Regions from separate parts of the Homo sapiens genome. Here regions 2 and 3 are each linked to region 1. Evidence: promoter capture Hi-C in 16 types of primary human blood cells and fetal thymus (Javierre and others, 2016). All regions are on one chromosome and are shown on one strand. Each heading gives the region's core, a stretch centred on a gene start or on the middle of the fragment in contact. The rest is flanking DNA. Distances are from core to core; before and after follow the strand shown.

Evidence for each region. Contacts are between HindIII fragments. The CHiCAGO score rates a contact against its expected background, and 5 or more counts as called.
Region 2: a contact is called between a fragment that was not itself captured here and the fragment with the promoter of AEBP1 in region 1, in 1 of 17 cell types (fetal thymus). The highest score is 6.7, in fetal thymus.
Region 3: a fragment that was not itself captured here is called in contact with the fragment with the promoter of AEBP1 in region 1 in 1 of 17 cell types (fetal thymus); the score reaches 7.6 in fetal thymus.

Annotation. Positions count from the first base shown.
Region 1 is chr7:44,101,923-44,105,968 of GRCh38, forward strand. It overlaps AEBP1 (AE binding protein 1), which reads left to right and starts at 2,423. Exons shown (of 21, transcript NM_001129.5): 1 at 2,423-2,996. The coding sequence starts at 2,744. The HindIII fragment of the contact is 6,426 bases long and covers 1-4,046 here.
Region 2 is chr7:44,840,737-44,844,943 of GRCh38, forward strand. It overlaps H2AZ2 (H2A.Z variant histone 2), which reads right to left. Exons shown (of 5, transcript NM_012412.5): 2 at 2,541-2,618; 3 at 163-276. Among named protein-coding and RNA genes, the nearest start is that of H2AZ2, 5.2 kb to the right of the region's middle. The HindIII fragment of the contact is 2,973 bases long and covers 1,359-4,207 here.
Region 3 is chr7:44,995,169-44,999,283 of GRCh38, forward strand. It overlaps LOC102723334 (a long non-coding RNA gene), which reads right to left. Exons shown (of 4, transcript XR_428139.4): 2 at 4,112-4,115. Among named protein-coding and RNA genes, the nearest start is that of CCM2, 3.0 kb to the right of the region's middle. RefSeq lists enhancers at 1-41, 62-111. The HindIII fragment of the contact is 2,431 bases long and covers 472-2,902 here.

The DNA.
Region 1 (4,046 bases), core at 1,173-3,672:
CCCACTGTAGCCCAGGAGAACACTTGGATGCAGGTGCAGACCCTGCTAAGTGGCAGGGGTAAGGGACCCTGAAAGCCACTAGGTGCTCTTGGCTACAAGCCTCCCATCCCCCTGACTGGCTTCACTCTGGCAGCAGAGGGGAGAAGTCCCCTCACCGGCCCCGTGGCAGAGCCTGGGCACAGGGCTAAAGGACTTTTTGGTGCAGGTCTTCAAGTGGAGTGGGAGTCCCAGCCCCACCACCCAAAGGGAGGCACATCAGCCTGGCATGGAGGGCAGCTGCCTCCCATCCACCTGCCCACACCCTTGGTGTCAGAGGGCCCCCAACATCATGGCCCTCCTTGTGGCCCAGCTCTCCATGAGAGCTTTTGCACATGTTTTTGTTGGTGACTCGCTGTGACTGAAGAAAAGCCTCCTTCTGTTCCTTTTTTGTTTTCTTATGGCTTCTATTTTCCCTGGCAGAGGATGTTGGACCCAAATCCAATCCATGTGTGAGTTGTTCCCAGGGAAGTGACGTGCCACGCTGCTTCACCCCAGCCTTGGGCCGCCGGGCTTGACATGCTCAACTGGGGCAACGGAGCAAATTCCCAGAACAAGTTTTGAGAAAGATGATTCAGAGCTTTGCAGAGGATGAGGAAAGGGGAGAGCTTGCGGATCCTTGCTGCCACCAGGACTGGCCTGGGGGCACGTGGCAGGCAGAGGCAGGCTCAGGTGCACAGGGAGCCTGGGTGTTGGGGCTCAGGGTCTGCTCTGAGCGCCCCAGTGGGCACAGCTCAGGTTGATCTCTGAGGGCAAATGATGAGAGCTAAAAGGCAGCAGTGTGAGTGCCAAGAATGTGTGCTAGGCACAGCACATGCATGATCCTGTATGAACGACAAGGAGAACAGGGACACAGGTGGACGGCACTGAGGCTACCTGCCGAGATGTGGTGCCTGGGAGGTAGAGCCAGAACCTGACACAGTCCCACTGCTTTTTCAAGGAGATGCAGTGAGAAAGCAAAGGCAGGGTCTTGGCAGGACCAGGTGTGAGAGGAGGCAAGGCCTCCTTGTGGTCCTGCTCCCAGGGGGTGGCATGTATCCCAGGCCCAGCAGCCTCCACTGTGGCCTCCCCGGCTGCTGCCTGCTCCAACTCACTCGGGGCTGCTCTGGGGACCCAGGTGCTTCCTGACCCACTTTTCCTCTTTCCTTTTGACCCCAGGTCCAAACTCTGCCCTGTCAATCATCCCAGGGGCTCCTAGGCTTCCCTACCTGACTACTTCACTGGGGCCAAACCCCGCAGACAATCGTGGCTTAGGGCTGTCTGCCTCTGCACTTGGCCCATGGACTACCTGTGAGCTTTCTCTTGTGTCCTCATTCCTTTAAGGGGGAATGTCCTCGGAGCTCTGTCCTTAGCTCCCCATTCCTCCAGTATGAGACAGGGACTAGGCTTGAGTCACGGGGGACTGTGCTGTGTCACGCCCTGCCATACTAATGGGACCACTCTGCCTGTTGATGGCCGTTGTAGGGCAGCCAACATTTGCCCTGGAGAAGCCTTATGGCAAACACCAGGCACCAAGGTGCACATCCCTGATGGATCCTGGGATCAGTTGACACTCAATCCACCTGCCTTCTGGGTCCTCTGGGCCCTCTGGGTCCATGTGGCAGCTGGAGGTATGGTAGACACTTTTTAAAAAATGAGTTCTGGTAAGAAGAAGGTGATAAATGGCTATTTGTCCACGTTGGGACCCGGAGGGGAGGGATGGCATGCCCTTACATGGGACTCCTACCCCCAGCGGGGCAGCTGGCCACTCTGAGGGCAGTTTTGCACCTGCCTCCTGGCTGGAAAGTGAGTTCCCACTGTGCTGTCCCTCCCTGGGGCCCAGCACGGGGCCCGGCCCCACACCGACCTGAAGAGGTTGGTAGGATGACTGAATGAATTGACGCTGGGATGCAGCAGGGCCCATGGGCAGAGGCTCCAGAGCCTGGGAAGGATGGGGTGGCCTTTCTGTGGCCCTCCGAATTGAGAGAGGTCTCAGAGGCCTGACACCACGGCTTTCCGTCCAGGGTTCCTGGTCACCCGCGGAGGGCTCAGAGCCCCGGTGGACTCGGGGTCCCGCCTTAAGGGGGGTGCCTAGGGCAGAAGGAGGAGGGATGTCGGCCCCCTCAGACCCGCACCCCAGGCCCTCCCCACCACCTTTCCTTCCCTCAGGCCCTCTGTCTTCCCAGTCGCCCCGCCCCCTGCCCCTCTGTCCTAGGCGCAAGTCTCCGGGCTTGGGACGCTCGCCGCCAGCGCCCGCCCGCCTGCCCCGCCCCTAGCCCCCCGCCCCCCGCCCCCCGCCCCCCCGCAGCCCCTCCGTCCACTCTCGGCTCCTCCTTCTCTTCCTCCTCCTCCTCCCCGGGGGTGGGGAGCCGGCTCCGGAAGCCCCGGCGCCCCCGCCCCGGGCCCCGCCAGCGCTTTGGAGACGGCTATCCGCGCGGGAGTGCGCCACGCGGGGCCGGAGCGCCTATTAGCCGCCAGGACCTCGGAGCGCCCCGACCACCCCTGAGCCCCTCTGGCTTCGGAGCCCCCCAGCACCCCTTCCCGGGTCCCCTCGCCCACCCTAATCCACTCTCCCTCCCTTTCCCGGATTCCCTCGCTCACCCCATCCTCTCTCCCGCCCCTTCCTGGATTCCCTCACCCGTCTCGATCCCCTCTCCGCCCTTTCCCAGAGACCCAGAGCCCCTGACCCCCCGCGCCCTCCCCGGAGCCCCCCGCGCGTGCCGCGGCCATGGCGGCCGTGCGCGGGGCGCCCCTGCTCAGCTGCCTCCTGGCGTTGCTGGCCCTGTGCCCTGGAGGGCGCCCGCAGACGGTGCTGACCGACGACGAGATCGAGGAGTTCCTCGAGGGCTTCCTGTCAGAGCTAGAACCTGAGCCCCGGGAGGACGACGTGGAGGCCCCGCCGCCTCCCGAGCCCACCCCGCGGGTCCGAAAAGCCCAGGCGGGGGGCAAGCCAGGGAAGCGGCCAGGGACGGCCGCAGAAGGTAAGAGCCCAGGGCAGGGCGGGGGTGTGGGGGGCTGGCATCTCAGGTGGGAACAGGGGGATTCGGTAGGGTCTGGCCACTCCCCAGTCTGCTAGGGGAGGAATGGCTGGCTTACTAATGCGCACGCGAGCCCAGATGCCTGGAGGGACCCTGTGCTAGGCCGAGGTCAGCGCTGGCGTGGAGGCACATCCAGCACCCGGGCGGCAGGGCCGCTTTTGGGGGCCGGTGGCTCTAGGGTTGGTGCTGTGGTTGTACGGGTCGCTTATCCCCATTCCTCCAGTACGCGACAGGTACTAGGCTTGAGCCACAGGGGACTGTGCTGTGTCACCCCCTGCCATACTAATGGGACCACTCTCCCTGTTGGTGGCACAGCTTCACGTCGTCCCTCCCTCCTGCCTTTGCCCTCCTACTCCAGGAGGTCTCACGTAGGTGAGAGAGTTTCAGGTGGTGGTGAGCACAGGGCTTCAGGTGGTGGTGAGCAATGGGTGGTCCTACATTAGTACAGGAAATTAGATGAGGTGATGCATCACTGAAGCATTTAACCCACGGCCTCTTGCATAATCAGTTGTCAGTAAATCTTAGCTGTTTTCATCGTGGCCCTCTGGAAGGTGGCAGAGGGTCTTGTGATCCCTGTCTCCCAGGAGATTCCAAGGCACCATCCAACATTCCTGATGTCAGCAGCCCCTCCCCTGCCACCCCAGCTCTAGATCTTTCCTGGCTGCTTCCCACACCCTGGGCTGCCTGTGCCCCTCCTGCCTCTGGCTCTCCTTCCAGGCTTGCTCTCCTGGCTCTGGGGCACCGCTCTAGCAGCCCTGCGTCCCCTGGCTGTCTGCATTTGGTAGCTTTCCTGTGTTTCTGCCAAACTTCCCTCATGCTCCCCACCTCTCATCAGGTTCTCAACAGCACTTGCAGCTCCTGCTTAGGGTCCTGGGAGGATTCCCATGGGGAATCCTCACAACCAGTCCCTGCTCCCTCTCCCAGACTCTGAAATGAGTGTGCAGCCACAAGCTCCCTACCTGTCTTTTCTGTCCTCTGTGTGATCCCTGAACC
Region 2 (4,207 bases), core at 1,595-4,094, 740 kb after region 1:
TCCAGCCTGGGAAACAAGAGTGAAACTCTGTCTCCAAACAAACAAACAAAAAAGCCCCAGTGAGCATAATATGTCTTTTTTCAAATATATTCCATGGGTTTCTGTCACTGAGACTAGTGCACCTTCTGGATGGCCATATACAACAGACATTCCTGTACAAACCTCTGCAGTGAGGTACTCCAGAATCGCAGCACTGTACACGGCAGCAGTGGCACCCACCCTTCCATGGCTTGTGGTGCGAGTCTTCAAGTGTCTGTGGATGCGGCCCACAGGAAACTAAAAGAGAGATGTCTTAGTGGGAAGCACTGCAGAGTCTTAACATTGCACTGACTGTAATCAAAGGCTGAACAATGTAAGCATGAAATAATAAAAAACTTGATCACACATATCAGAAGCCAAACCTATTACGCATCAATAGTTCCCAGGGCCTGTGTCTCTGTTCTGGTAATCTGTCCAAAATCTTTAACCTCTGCATAATATGGGAAATATCACTCTAAAATGAAGAAATACCACGCTGGGCTGTCATCAACTGTACGTTCAACATGACCCATGGATCAAATTCCTATCTAGTTAATTTCTTCACATAATAGCCACATGCAACTTTGAACCTCCAATACCTTCCTCAGATCTTAAATGTTCTTTCTTCAGTTTCAAGAGGTGATCTGATAGTTAAGAAAAATCAATACTATTATCTCATTGTGGTTCTTTCTACTTTCTGAAAAAGAGGGTATTTTTCTCATTTCAAAGTATCCTGATCCCACTTGTCTGTGCCCTTTATTATTTTTTTTATTGAGACAGAGTCTCACTCTGTCACCCAGGCTGGAGTGCAGTGGCGCCATCTTGGCTCACTGCAACCTCCGCCTCCCGGGTTCAGGCGATTCTCCTGCCTCAGCCTCCTGAGTAGGTGGGATTATAGGCGCGCCAGGACGCCTGGCTGTTTTGTATTTTTAGTAGAGACAGGGTTTTGAGTGATCTGTCCACCTTAGCCTCCCAAAGTGCTGGGATTACAGGCATGAGCCACTGTGCCCCGCCAGTCTGTGCCTTTCTTACAGGCCTCCCTCAACCCTTCACTGCTCCATTATTTCAACAGCTACAATTACTTCCTTTCCGCTGGTTCCTTTCCTTCTACAGACTTTACTGAAAACTTCACAATCTATGAAAACTGCTTCCAGTTACAGTCTAGACAGTCTCTTTCCAAAGACTGAATTGAAAAAACAAATCCTGAAACCCTTACTTCCTTGTCACCCATTTTTCCTAACCCTAACTTGACCTTTGAAGGCCAGCAGTGACATTTTACTTCCTTAATAAAAACAAGCAATCTTTTTTTTGCATTTATACTTCATCTCTAAGTGACCAAAAGCTTCTTAAGGGCAAGATTTATGTCTTCTTTTCCTTTGTATCCTTAGTAACCAGTATGTTGTCTGGCATACAGTAGGCCCTCAAAAACATTTCATCTTAGACTTCAGAGTTCTCATACCAAGTCTGACTACTCCTCAGCCTTTTCTTAAAGTTTTTCAGGGGTCCACCAACGTCCCTGTGCTCCTTTCTCATTCTCTTAGGTTAGGAAACTCATCCATAACATAAACTATCCATTTTACATAAATGATCTCAAATTCCTAATTCTATCACCTCTATTAGAAAGCTGAACTCATGTTTCCAACTTCTGGACATTTTCACATGGATGTTTTAGTGAACTTCAAAATGATTCCATTTAAATTTACTCATAACTTGCCCCTACTACAAACTCCTCTGTTCCTTAGGTTCTAAGCCTTAGAGAAACCTGTGACTTTCTCTCAACCTTATACTGCTTCACCTATTTTCTGCACACACATGCTTTCTACTCCTTCCCATTCAAGTATGTTACTTTATTCCTAAACCACTGCAAAAACCTCCATTGGCCTTCCATTTTCTACTTCAAATTAAGTATGCCTTAAAATAAATTCTAATTGGGAATATACATGGAGACCTAAAATACAGAATGTGCATATCAGTTTAAGTTCCCATCCCCCTTCTTTCGGTATCATCTGGATAATGTTGTCCTCTGGCTCAAACTCTCAATGGCTTACCACTGCCAAGAGGATAACAGTTTACAGCTTAGCCTTCCTGATTAAAAGGGTTTCTCAGCCAGGCGCGGTGGCTCATGCCTGTAATTCCAGCCCTCTGGGAGGCTGAGGCAGGCAGATCACGAGGTCAAGAGATTGAGACCATCTTGGCCAACATGGTGAAATCCCGTCTCTACTAAAAATACAAAAACTAGCTGGGTATGGTGGCGCACGCCTGCAGTCCCAGCTATGTGGGAGCCTGAGGCAGGAGAATCGCTTGAATCCAGGAGGCAGAGGTTGCAGTGAGCCGAGATTGCACCACTGCACTCCAGCCTGACGACAGAGTGAGACTCTGTCTCAAAAAAAAAAAAAAAAAAAAAAAAAAAAAAAAAAAAAAGTCTGTAGTAATACAAGTAGATTTTTGTAATTGATGAAACATAGGTCATAAATTACAACAGTAAAGAAAATAATAATGTAATGACAGCATGGATTCATTACCTGTAGCCCAGCTCTCTGTGAGCGAGATACTGCCTTAGCCTTGGCCTTCCCACTGTCCTTTCCAGCTTTGCCTCCAGCCTAAATGCAAAAAAAAATTTTTTTGAATGAAAAGAGTTGAAAATACTACTTCAAAAATATTCTGGAAACAGAATTTTTTCTAGTTTTACTTTAGGTAGTTAACAATATGTAGGTGATCCCCTTCCTCATTTGTAAATATACATGGGATTCTATCACCTTTTATAATTTCTATCAAAGAAATCAAACCTTAAACACTTATTTAAAATATTTTTCTTTTTTCTTGAGATGGAGTCTAGCTCTGTTGCCCAGGCTGGAGTGCAGTGGTGCGACCTTGACTCACTGCAAACTCCACCTCCTGGGCTCAAGCGATTCTCCTGCCTCAGCCTCCTGAGTAGCTGAGATTACAGGCGCACACCACCACACATGGCTAATTTTTGTATTTTTAGTAGAGGTGGGTTTCACTATGTTGGCCAAGCTGGTCTTGAACTCCTGACCTCAAGTGATCCGCCCGCCTAGGCCTCCCAAAGTGCTGGGATTACAGGCATAAGCCACAGTGCCAGGCTGAAAAATATGAGATTTTTAAAAACAAACATATTTATCAATTTCCAGATTAAAGAATCTTGCAAGTCAATATAACTTTTATGCATACATGAAATATTTCACAATTTTTATCAATGTCAATGTAACATATATTACTTCCACAGAAATATTTAGAACTTAGCTCTCAGAAAAATAAAGCATGTTCCAAGAAAAAAAAAAAAAACCTCAAAAAATTAAACACAGAATTGTCATATAGTCTAGCAATTCCACTTCTAGGTATACACCTAAAAATTGAAAGCAAGGATTCAAACAAATACATGTATACCCACGTTCACAGAAGCATTATTCAGAATAGCCAAAAGGTAGAAACAATCTTGAGTGTCCAATGATGGATGAACAAAATGATATACATATAATGGAATAGTATTCAGCTTTAAAAAGGAAATTCTGACACAAGCTACAACATGAATGGGCCTTGAGGACATTATGCTAAGGAAAATAAGCCAGTTACAAAAAAGACAAATACTGTATGATTCTACTTATGAGGTCCCTAAAATAGTAAAGTTCATGGTCAGAAAGCAGATTTGTGGTTGCCAGGGGTAGCTGCCTCCTGGGTTCAAGTGATTCTCCTGCCTCAGCCTCCTAAGTAGCTGGTAGTATAGGTGCGCGCCACCATGCCCTGCTAATTTTTGTATTTTTAGTACCAACAAGGTTTCTGCATGTTGGCCAGGCTGGTCTTGAACTCCTGACCTCAAGTGATCTGCCTGTCTCATCCTCCCAAAGTACTGGGATTACAGGCGTGAGCCACTGCGCCTGGCCGAGTTATTGTTGAATGGGTAGAGTTTCCACTTGGGAAGATGAAAAAGTTCTAGAGGCAGAAGGCAGTGATGGTTGCACACTATAAATGTACTTAATGCCACTGAACTGTACGCTTTAAAAAAACCTATTTCTGCATGAAAAAGGCAAAGTATGTGCCAATGTAATGAGCTTTTAAGTAAATATGGGGTATTATAGAGTATATGTGTACACATGTATTTCTAGTAGGTGACACAATAAATTAGAAATGTTATTTGCCTCTCGGGAGGAAATACTAAAGGTCTGACTTAAGA
Region 3 (4,115 bases), core at 437-2,936, 890 kb after region 1:
TATGTTATAATTGTCTCATTGGTGTCTGTTACGAGAGACTGAATATACAAATAGACAATGGCTGGACCATTTGTACAACTAGAACTCTGACTGACAACCTGCAGAAACCTCCTCAGGAAACCAATTCGTTATCTACAGCAACCAGCCCAGGAAACAAGCCTGCTGTAAGTCATACTTGCAGGAAGCCAGGTGTTATCTCTAGTGACAATCCAGGAGTAACTTTTCTAACAGCCCCCAAAGCCTAGGACTTAATTAATAACTGGCACCCTATCTCTCACCAGATACAAAAATCAACTCAAAATGGATTAAAGACTTAAACATAAGACCTGAAACTACAAAACTACTAGAAGAAAACATAGGGGAAATGCTTCAAGACATTGAACGAGGCAAAGATTTTATGGCTAAAATTTCAAAAGCATAGGCAACAAAACCAAAAATAGACAAATGGGACTATATTAAGCGAAACTAAAAAGCTTCTGCACAGCAATGGAAACAATCAACTGAGTGAAAAGACAACCTTTAGAATGGGAGAAAATATTTGCAAACTATTCATGCGGCAAGGGACTAATATCCAGAATATACAAGGAACTCAAACAACTTGACAGCAAAAAACCACAAATAATCCATTAAAAAGTGGGCGAAGAATCTGAGTAGACATTTCTCAAAAGAAGATGTACAAAAAACAAATAGGTACATATAAAAAAATACTCAATATCATGAGTCATCAGGGAAATGCAAATCAAAACCACAATGAGATACCATTTCACCCCATTTAGAATGGTTATTATCAAAAAGGCAAAAAATAAGGGTGTTGGCGCACCTGCAGTCCCAGCTACTTAGGAGGCTGAGGTGGGAGGATCCATTGAGCCCAGGAGCCCAGCTCCTTAGCTCAAGCTGCGGTGAGCTAAGATCATGCCACTGCACTCCAGCCTGGGTAACAGAGGGAAGCCCTGTCTCTAAAAAAAAAAAAAAGACAAAAAATAAGGTTGAGCGTGGTGACTCAAGCCTATAATCCCAGCACTTTGGGAGGCTGAGGCGCGAGGATTGCTTGAGCCCAGGAATTTGAGAGCAGCCTGGGCAACATAGAGACCTCATCTCTACAAAAAGTAAAAAAATTAGCCAGGTGTGATAGCAGACACCTGTGGTTCCAGCTACTGGGGAGGCTGAGGTGGGAGGATCTCTTGAGTCTATGAGATCAAGGCTGTAGTGAGCAGTGATCATACCACTGCACTCCAGCCTGGGTGACAGAGTGAGACCTCATGTCAAAAAAAATTAGTATATATACACAATAGAATACTATTTGGCCATAGGAAAAAAAAATGAAAATGTCATTTGCAGCAACATAAATAGAGCTAGAGGTCACTATGTAAGCCTGTAATCCCAATACTTGGGAGGCTGAAGTGGGAGGATGGCTTGAACCTAGGAGTTGGAGACCAGCCTGGGCAACATAGTGACCTCATCCCTGTAAATTTTTTTTTAAACAAAAAAACAAAGACAAGTATTGCATTTACTCACTCATATGTGGGAGCTAAACAAATATTCATCTCATTGAGATAGAGACTGGGATGATAGCCACCAGAGGCTGGGAAGGGTGTGTGTTGGGGGAAAGTAGGGGGCTGAAGAGAGGTTGGTTAGCGTGTACAAACATACAGCTAAATAGAAGCAATAATTTCTCATGGGTGTGTGTGTGTGTGTGTGTGTGTGTGTGTGTGTGAGACAGATCTGGCTTGTTGCCCAGGCTGGAGTGCAGTGGTGCAATGACAGCTCACTGCAGCCTCGACCTCCTGGGCTCAAGGACCCCACTTCAGGCCCCTGAGTAGCTGGGACCACAGGTGCACACCACTATGCCCAGCTAATTTTTGTATTTTTTGTAGAAGAAGGATCTCACTATATTGCCCAGGCTGGTCTCCAATTCCTGGGTTCACGTGATCTTCCCAGCTTAGCCTCTCCAAGTGCTCGGATTACGGGTTTGAGCCACCACACCCAGCCTAAATTCTAATGTTCCATAGCAGAGTAAGATGACTATAGTTAATAACAATGTACTGTATATTTCAGAATAGCTAGGAGAGATCTGAAATGTCTCCAACACAAAGAAATAAGTGTTCAGGTGACGAATATCCTAAATACCCTGATTTTATTATTACACATCATATGCATGTATCAAAATATCACATGTATTTTGGCCGGGTGCAGTGGCTCATGCCTGTAATCTCAGCACTTTGGGAGGCTAAGGTGGACAGATCACATGAGGCCAGGAGTTCGAGACCAGCCTGGGCAACATGGTGAAACCCTGTCTCTACTAAAAATACAGAAATTAGCCGGGCGTGGTAGTGGGCACCTGTAATTCCAGCTACTCCGGAGGCAGGAGAATCGCTTGAAACTGGGGGGTGGATGTTGCAGTGAGCTGAGATTGCACCACTGCACTACAGCCTGGGCAATACAGAGTAAGACTCTGTCTCAAAAAAAAAAAAAAAAAAAAAATTAGCCTGGTGTGGTGGTGCATGCCTGTAATCCCAGCTACTTGGGAAGCTGAGGCAGGAGAATTGCTTGAACCTGGGAGGCAGAGGTTGCAGTGAGCTGAAATCATGCCACTGCACTCCAGCCTGGGTGACAGAGTGAGACTCTGCCTCACACACACACACAAATCACATGTACCTCATAAATATGTACAATTATTATGTGTTAGCTGGGTGCGATGGCTCATGCCTATAATCCCAGCACTTTGGGAGGCTGAGGAGGGAGGATTGCTTGAGCCTAGGAGTTTGAGACCAGCCTGGGCAACATAGTGTGACCTTGTCTCAACAAAAATATACTAAAATTAGCCAGGCTTGGTGATGCGTCCTTGTAGTCCCAGCTACTTGGGAGGCTGAGATGGGAGGATTGCTTGAGCCCAGGAGGTTGAAGCTTCAGTGAGCCATGACTGCATCACTGCACTCTAACCTGAAGGACAGAGTGAGACTTTATCTCTAAAAATACAAAAGAAACAAAAAATTATTTGTCAATTAAAAAAAAACTGGCAGCTTTCCTAGTTTTCGGTCCTGCTTCCAGCTTAGGAGCAACCAGAGAAAGACAAATATGTGCCCCTAACCAATCACTTGGGATGCCCTGCCCCTTGCTTCCCCAGGCCAACAGCCTCAAATGAGGACATCCCTGGAGGCTTCCCTTTTTTCACTATAAAGCTTACCCACTCCTCTGCCTGACATTGAGTCTCATCCAAATACAAATGATGGTGGCTGACTCCCTTGTTATAGCAAGCTAACAGCCTTTTTGCTTTTCTCATTTTATTGTCTTTATTCCCAGTTATCACCATCTGATCATTAGCCAGTGGACTTTTGCTTGAAGCATGAACCTGTGTATGCAAAGACAGGGCAAAGGTATTCTGATGGATAAGAACAGCCTGAGGAAGTCAGCACATCCAGAGTTAGGCTAAGAGAAGTTTTAGTAGTGTTGTTTACTGTATTATGGAGTGATAAATATGCATTTGTGGAAGACGGTGGAAGACTTTAAATATCAGGCCTTTGTTCTGTGAATGGTGGGAAAATAATGACAACCAGATGCGCTACATCATTTGCGTGTGTAAATGTGGCAAGCTGGATTATTGCAGAAGGCAGATTGAAAGGGTGTTTCCACTATCTCTGCTTTATCTTGCAGAGAATGGAATACTTATGCCTTTGGAGAGGTCTAGAGACCAAGTATTTCTTTTGAATATCAGTATAACATAGGCCCAGTCAGGAGACAGAAACACAGTAAAGAAAAGTTTAATATAAAGAATTATTAGGCCGGGCGCGGTGGCTCACGCCTGTAATCCCAGCACTTTGGGAGGCCGAGGTGGGCGGATCACCAGGTCAGGAGATCCAGACCATGGTGAAACCCCGTCTCTACTAAAAATACAAAAATTAGCCAGGTGTGGTGGCTGGCGCCTGTAGTCCCAGCTACTCGGGAGGCTGAGGCAGGAGAACGGCGTGAACCCGCGAGGCAGAGCTTGCAGTGAGCCGAGATCCACGCCACTGGCACTCCAGCCTGGGCGACAGAGCAAGGCTCCGTCTCAAAAAAAAAAAAAAACCACCAAAAAAACACAGTTTACATTCTAGCTGTGCTACAAAGTTCTTACCGGC